2 separate regions of the Homo sapiens genome follow, and region 2 is linked to region 1. Evidence: promoter capture Hi-C in human tissues and cell types (Jung and others, 2019). All regions are on one chromosome and are shown on one strand. The core of a region is centred on a gene start or on the middle of the fragment in contact, and the rest is flanking DNA. Distances in the headings are between cores, read along the strand shown. Region 1 holds the start of DKK4 (dickkopf Wnt signaling pathway inhibitor 4). Region 2 overlaps RNF170 (ring finger protein 170).

Region 1 (3,304 bases), core at 419-2,918:
TACTTCAAGCATGAATCTAGGAAGCACCATTAGAGAGTGCCTACCCTGGAATATTCTAGTCTATGGGGCTTAGACACTACCTTCGGTTTAAAAACCACTGTTGGCGTTATGTCGCTCACCGTTCACACAGAGTGTCCCAGGGCAGCACATGGCATCTCGCTGGCACCTCCTCCGCAACCCACGACATGTAGCACAGAACGGCTTCTCATCGCGGGGCTGGAGGCAGAACTTTCTGGTATTGCAGTCCGTGTCAGACAGGCACTGTGAGCCCTGTGGAGGGAATCTGTTATCACAAGGCTAGGAAACCCCCAACACGATGGAAGATGACTTATTATTGAAGGCAGGAGGCGGAGGGAGCCAAAGGACAGTGGCGCTGTGACAAACCCTGGGCAGCATCTTACTCTCCAGTGGAAATGGTTTTCTCCCACAAAGGGAAGCTCATGTCACCCGGGGAGACCTAGGCGCTGCAAAGGCTATTTGAGTTTGAAAAATTGACTTAACTCAGAATTTAGTTTTCCTGTGCTCTTTGTGAAAATGGGAAAAAATGTTTTCCTATGTGTGTCTTAACAGGTGAGTATGAGATTTTCAATATATCTTAACTCTAGAAGCTGGCTACAGTTTCATTAAACATACTATTGATGTTTGTGGCATTCCTATTTGATTTTTTACTCTAGTGAATCACATTTAGCTTAGAGACCCTTCCCTAAGTGAACTGTCCTTTGATTTTCAATGATGCCTCATTGACATAGAGAAAGAGATACCGAAGATCAATTGTTCTCATACACAGTTGATGCTTCTACATAGACATACAACGTAGGTGTAGCATATATGATATATGTAATAATCTATACGATATATAATAACATATACACATACATAAAGCGATTCCTAAAACAACTCTCTCTGTGAAGTTAGATGGTGACAAGGCAATGCATCATGGCCCTCTGTTTAAATTCTCATTCCCATGTTTGCTTGCTGGCTGTGTGAGCTTGGGTAAGCTCTTCAACATCTCTGAGTCTTATTTCCTCATCTGGAATTAGGGAATGTTTCACCTATCTCAAATTGTGAGGAAGAGTACATGACGTATTACATGTAAAAGAGCTGGCACATAGTAGAGCTTCCAAAGTGTTCGTTTATTTCGTGATTTATAGACAAACGTATGGCCGAATGATGTGAAAAGCCACTGTGTTTATTTCATACATTCACACTAAGGCCACTGATCCTACCAGGATGCCCTCCCAAATCCGAAACCAATTCAATTTACCTGCTAGGTAAGACATTTCATACATGAATCAGAATGACTTACTAAAGCCTAAACAAAACACCCCAGCTGTCAGCAGTCCCGTACCTCGCCCCCCTCCCTAGCAGCCTTACCTTCCGGGCCCCATGCAGGTCAGCAGAGCTCCTGATGTTGTTGAAGTCCAGGACCAGAGCTCCCAGGGGAGAGCAGAGCCAGCTCAGCCCCAGCAGGACGGCCGCCACCATCCTTCAATCCCGGGGCTCCTGGAGGGTCCCAGCACTGTGCGTCACCAAAGCGAGGCTGCTCTCCACCCAGAGCAGAGCTTCCACTAAGCTGGCAGCTCAGCACGTCGTCTGTTTGTCACTGCTTTTTCTGAAAGAAGTAAACCTTAGTCTGAGTAAGGTGCGTGAAATCGGCTGAGCAAAGTCTGACCAGCAGGTTCCTCCTGAAACTATTTATAACCAGATGTGCCTCCTCCCCGCTCCGTTCCTTCCTCCTGCCCCACACAGGCTTCAACAAATCCCTTCAAATCTGTTTGATCAATAGTTCAAAACAAGGACTCAATAGAAGGAGAGAAGAGGCAGGGCCATGCGGCTTCTCCTCCAGGGGTTCAATCCCTCTTAATTATTGCATATCAAAGTTAGTTCAAAGGGCCACGGCAGAGCAGGATGTCTGTATCAAAGGCAAACTCTGATAATCACCTGCATTTCCTACCTTCAGTAATCCTTTGGGGGTAGGGAGGGAGTCTGCCCTAAGATCTGTTTTCACAGCTAATTGTGCTCAAAGAAAGGATGAATCATACTGGCCAATATGCTATAGAGGATGCCAAAAACTAATGAGGTACAAAATACACTGAGAAGCTGTAAACTGGGCTTCAGATAGTGAGGACAGATAGAAAAAGAGAAAACGCCCCCTGATTAGCTCTGGCATCCAGATGTCAAAATCCCAACCGCTTAAAAGTTGTGAACGTAACAGCACCTGTTCTGACTAAATGCCATTTGGGAAATTACTTTCCTTTAAATGAAAATTGAACTGTTTGAAGTTAGGGTTATTAGGAAAATAATGTAATTTATGAAAATCCCATTTTTCAATGGTGGGAACAATGATAGCGCATTTTACACAATTCAGTACGAAGCTTTGGGTCCATTTTATCAGCAACATATTTAATTTGTGTTGCATTATGTAAAACTCACTTAAGCAGAACAAGGATCCAAGTCTCTGGCTGATTTCAGATGAAATTTCATGTATTTCCAATTTTCCTAATACGAATTTTTTAAAACTTCTGCTTCATCCCTTTCCTGTCTGATTTTTTTCCATTTGGACTATTAGTCAGGTAATTTAGACATGTGCTTATCACTGTCTTAAATACTTTAAGGGTAGAACAATCTAGATCTGGATCAAAAAATCATTTTTTCTCTTCATTGTTTCATTGCTCTTAGCATAGAGTCATCTAAAATGCATTTTTTCTATGCCATAAATGATAATCTTATTATTTACTACATTTTCCTGCAGAACAACCTAACATCAATTCATTGACATGAATCTCAGCATTCTGTGCATGGGAACATTCTCAATTTTGAGTAATGCAGTGCCATTCCGAGGGTGATGCAGGTGATTCGAGCCTTCCTACTACTTGGCCCTTGTCCTTGGGTTGGTATTGCTTGTCTACCTCTCGTATGGAAGTTACTTGTTTTAATCCCTTAAACTGACATCAAACAACACCCTTTGATAGCATGATAACCCTGGTGACTAGGGGTGTTACAGAATTTATTTTCAAGTTGTACAATTATGACCAAGGATAAAGGAAAGAGCCCCCAGGGTTCTGTCTCTGCCGGGTTTCTCTGCTTCCTGCTGCCTCACTGTAAGGGAATTTCAGGTTACCAAAGGCCCCTGGCAATATACACAGGCGAAAGAACTGACGGGAACTCCTGTAACACGGCACAAACAGCCACTGAGCACTTAGAGCACTTGGCATGGAACAGAGCCTCGGATTACATGTTAGGAATAAAATTTGAAACTCCAATGGCCGGGCACAGTGGCTCACACCTGTAATCCCAGCACTTT
Region 2 (3,537 bases), core at 674-3,173, 490 kb after region 1:
CCTGGAATTTTTTTAAGGGAACATTTCAAACAGGGCTAGGGCAAATAGAATAAACCACAACTGTGAAACTTAAAGTTTTCAGTTGTAACTTTTCTCAAAAGACAAATGGTGTTTTAGTATCACAAAGAAGTAAATAATTTTCTATTTCCCTCTAATTTTTTCTATTGCTTTTCTGCTAGTTTCTCTTTCATAAAAACTTTTATAATGCTGTTTGTTTTTTAAGAAAGAAAATTGTAGTCCTTGGGAAAGGTGTAATGTAGTGATTGGCAGCAATGAAGGTAAAAACTTGACCCAACACATATAATGAGATTTTTTTTTTTCTTTTTCTTTTCTTGTTTTTTGAGGAAGGGTCTCACTGCCACCCAGGTGGGAGTGCAATAGTGCGATCATGGCTCACTATAGCCTCAACCTCCTGGGCTCAGGTGATCCTCCCATTTCAGCCTCCCAAGAAGCAGGGACTACAGGCATGTGCCAACACTCTTGTCCAATTTTTTGGTGTTTTTTCTAGAGATGGGGTTTCATCATGTTTCCAAGGCTGGTCTCAAACTCCTGGGCTCAAGTGATCCACCTGCCTTGGCCTCCCAAAGTGCTAGGATTATAGGCGTTAGCTACTGTGCCTGGCCAAGATTTCTCATAGTCAAAGAATACTTGTTGGTAAACCTCACTTTACAAAAGAGAAGAAATGTGTCTTCCTCTAACTTTGAACATGCTTTAGCATTACTTACAGATCTGGGTTGCCCTGAGAATCTCCGGTTATAATCATTAATATCCTGATGCAATCTCAGAACATCCTGAGACTGATCATCTTCACCAAATACTGTTAGGAGTAAGGTTACCTGTATATTACAGAAAAAAAAATTATTTCAACTTTCTGCATCATTATGTTTTTTTCATTTTGTGTTATTATTCAATAGAATGATAAAGGCTTCTATATTTATATTTCACTCATTTTTAAATAAAGGCAACCTGGGGGAGGGGAGTAAGTAACTGCTTTGCAATAAAATCCAATGCAACATAGAATTTGAACTCCTATAAAATAGACACCATATCCAACTACTGGCCTAATATTTTCCTGTCCACACCAGGGGTAAATTCCTTAGTTCTCTATTTGGGCTAACAGATATTTGAAGATAAAAGAAGGATGAGGAAACATTCAGGAGGAAAGTGACATAAAATATATAACTGTCACTTTAAGACAGAAAAATTATGGTTTTCTTTTTCAGTATTAAAATAATGATTGGTTATTCTTACTGGTATTTGAAAGATCTTTGAATGCTACCAACCATAATATAAAGATTATGTTATTGCAGGGACCAGCTCTCAAACACCAATTCCTACTATAATAAAAAAAAGAAATTTTTGATATTGTCATATAACATAATACATTTAACCCTGCTTCCTTCATGGTTGTGGTAACAAGGATGTACAAATGTCCCAGGACCATACTGGGGTAATCTGACGGTGACAGTACCTTGAAAAATAAATACACTTTAGGACGTAGCACCCTTATAGAAAATGGTCACTAATGATTGTATGATGACATAAAAACGGGAAGGAGTGGTGGCCGATTTAGTTTTAAATCATTTAGTTGTTGTTTTGTCCTTCCTCAGTTCAGCTGTAAAACCAAGGCTTCCCACTGTTTAGATGCTTTCCAAACAGCTAAAAGAAGGCGTGACTAAGCACAGAAGGTGGTGAGAACAGCAGGTGCAGCCATCACTTCCTTCACAAATTTGTTAATAAAAATGCATTCTTTCAATACACATTAATGGAACACCTATGGCGGGCCAGGCACTCTGCTTAGTGCTAGGTATGCCAGAAAAATGAAGTCAAAAGCCTGCTCCAGGGTGACTACAACACCCACAAGGAAAGGGGAGGAAGACCTGGCCGACAGCCTTACATGGTCCTGGGGCAGGTGCAAGAATGCTGCTGTGAGAGCGAGGATCTCTTCTGCCTGGGGTGGTCAGAAAGCCTGATACTGAGCCAAACCTGGAAATGGTGGTAGGACTGTGGCTGGTGTGCACGCATTCAAGGGGAGAAGTGGTGAATGTGTTCCAGTCAGAGGCGGCAGCCTGTGTATTGCTATTTCCATGACCATTTACTGAAGGGGCTACTGAAAACAGGAGGTAGAACAAGCATTTGCCATCTGTCTTGCCTCCAGGATGAATTACTCTTATCTTAGGGAACCAAGACCTATTATATTAAGACAACTTTATCTCGACCTTCTGAGCCTCTAGTCAATTTATGGATGGTACACAGGATACCACTGGCTACTGTACACATGTCCTATGAAAAGCCATGGGCAGAACCAAGAAGAGGGAGGGCCTGGAACTATTTTTTTAATGTAAGACCTACTCCCTAGTTTGGATGTTGCTGACCGAGAGCAAAAGATGCCAAGAAGTAGTACGGGCAAATAAGCTTCAATTTAAAAAAAAAATTTTTTTTTGAGACAGTCTCGCTCTGTCTCCAGGCTGGAATGCAGTGACACCACCTCGGCTCACTGCAACCTCCACCTCCCAGGTTCAAGTGATTTTTCTGCCTCAGCCTCCCAAGTAGCTGGGACTACAGGTGTGCGCCACCATGCGCAGCTAATTTTTGTATATTTAGTACAGACTGGGTTTCACCATGTTGGCCAAGATGGTCTTGATCTCTTGACCTTGTGATCTGCCCGCCTCAGCCTCCCAAAGTGCTAGGATTACAGGCGTGAGCCATCACGCCCGGCCATAAGCTTCAATGTTGACTGCCTTGTGTCACGCATCAAATCAGCCAGAGAGGCATATAGAAACATCAGTTTTCCTCCTGACCATGTGGCCACAAGTAAAATATGAAAGAGGCAGAATTTGGGAATGTATAAGCAAGAATGGTAAGAAAATGACTTGGACCTCCCTCTTTGCACCAAAATAAGAGGGCAGTTGAGGGGAAACAGACAGCTACAATAAAGGCTGAAGGAGAGAGAGAGAGAGAGTGTGTGTGTGTGTGTGTGTGTGTGTGTGTGTGAACATTCCACCCACGGGTAAGTGGAGGAATACTTTTTTTTTTTTTAGTGTGTGTGAACATTCCACCCATGGGTAAGTGGAGGAATACTTTTTTTTTTAGTGATGTAATCTCGTTCTATTGCCCAAGCTGGAGTGCAGTCCCATGATCATAGCTCATTGCAGCCTCAACCTCCTGAGCTCAAGCAATCCCCCCACCTCAGCCTCCCAAGTAGCTGGGACTACAGGTATACACCACCACACCTGGCTAATTTCATTTTTTAAATTTTTTTGTAGAGATGGAATCTCATTTTGTTGCCCAAGCTGGTATCGAACTCCCAGCTTCAAGTGATCCTCCTGCCTTGGCCTCCCAAAGTGCTGGGATTACAGGCATGAGCTACTGCGCCCACCCTGTATTTTTATTTTAAATGAAAAATAAATATAAAGGAAATTATGAAAAACAGTGTACAACTGACACAATGTCCTATTTTGTCATACTTAAAAACTGAGAATATTGGTTTCTCAGAATTGTTCAGTATTTCATTTCTCCAGTTTATCAAAGAAATGG

Evidence for each region. The method cuts DNA at HindIII sites, captures the fragments that hold promoters and counts their contacts. A contact is called where the count stands out against the background at its distance.
Region 2: a contact is called between a fragment that was not itself captured here and the fragment with the promoter of DKK4 in region 1, in 1 of the 25 tissues and cell types used here (heart left ventricle).

Annotation. Positions count from the first base shown.
Region 1 is chr8:42,375,561-42,378,864 of GRCh38, forward strand. It overlaps DKK4 (dickkopf Wnt signaling pathway inhibitor 4), which reads right to left and starts at 1,669. Exons shown (of 4, transcript NM_014420.3): 1 at 1,375-1,669; 2 at 120-270. The coding sequence starts at 1,485. The HindIII fragment of the contact is 8,640 bases long and covers 1-3,304 here.
Region 2 is chr8:42,861,020-42,864,556 of GRCh38, forward strand. RNF170 (ring finger protein 170) reads right to left here. Exons shown (of 7, transcript NM_030954.4): 6 at 726-836. Among named protein-coding and RNA genes, the nearest start is that of THAP1, 19 kb to the left of the region's middle. The HindIII fragment of the contact is 3,920 bases long and covers 1-3,537 here.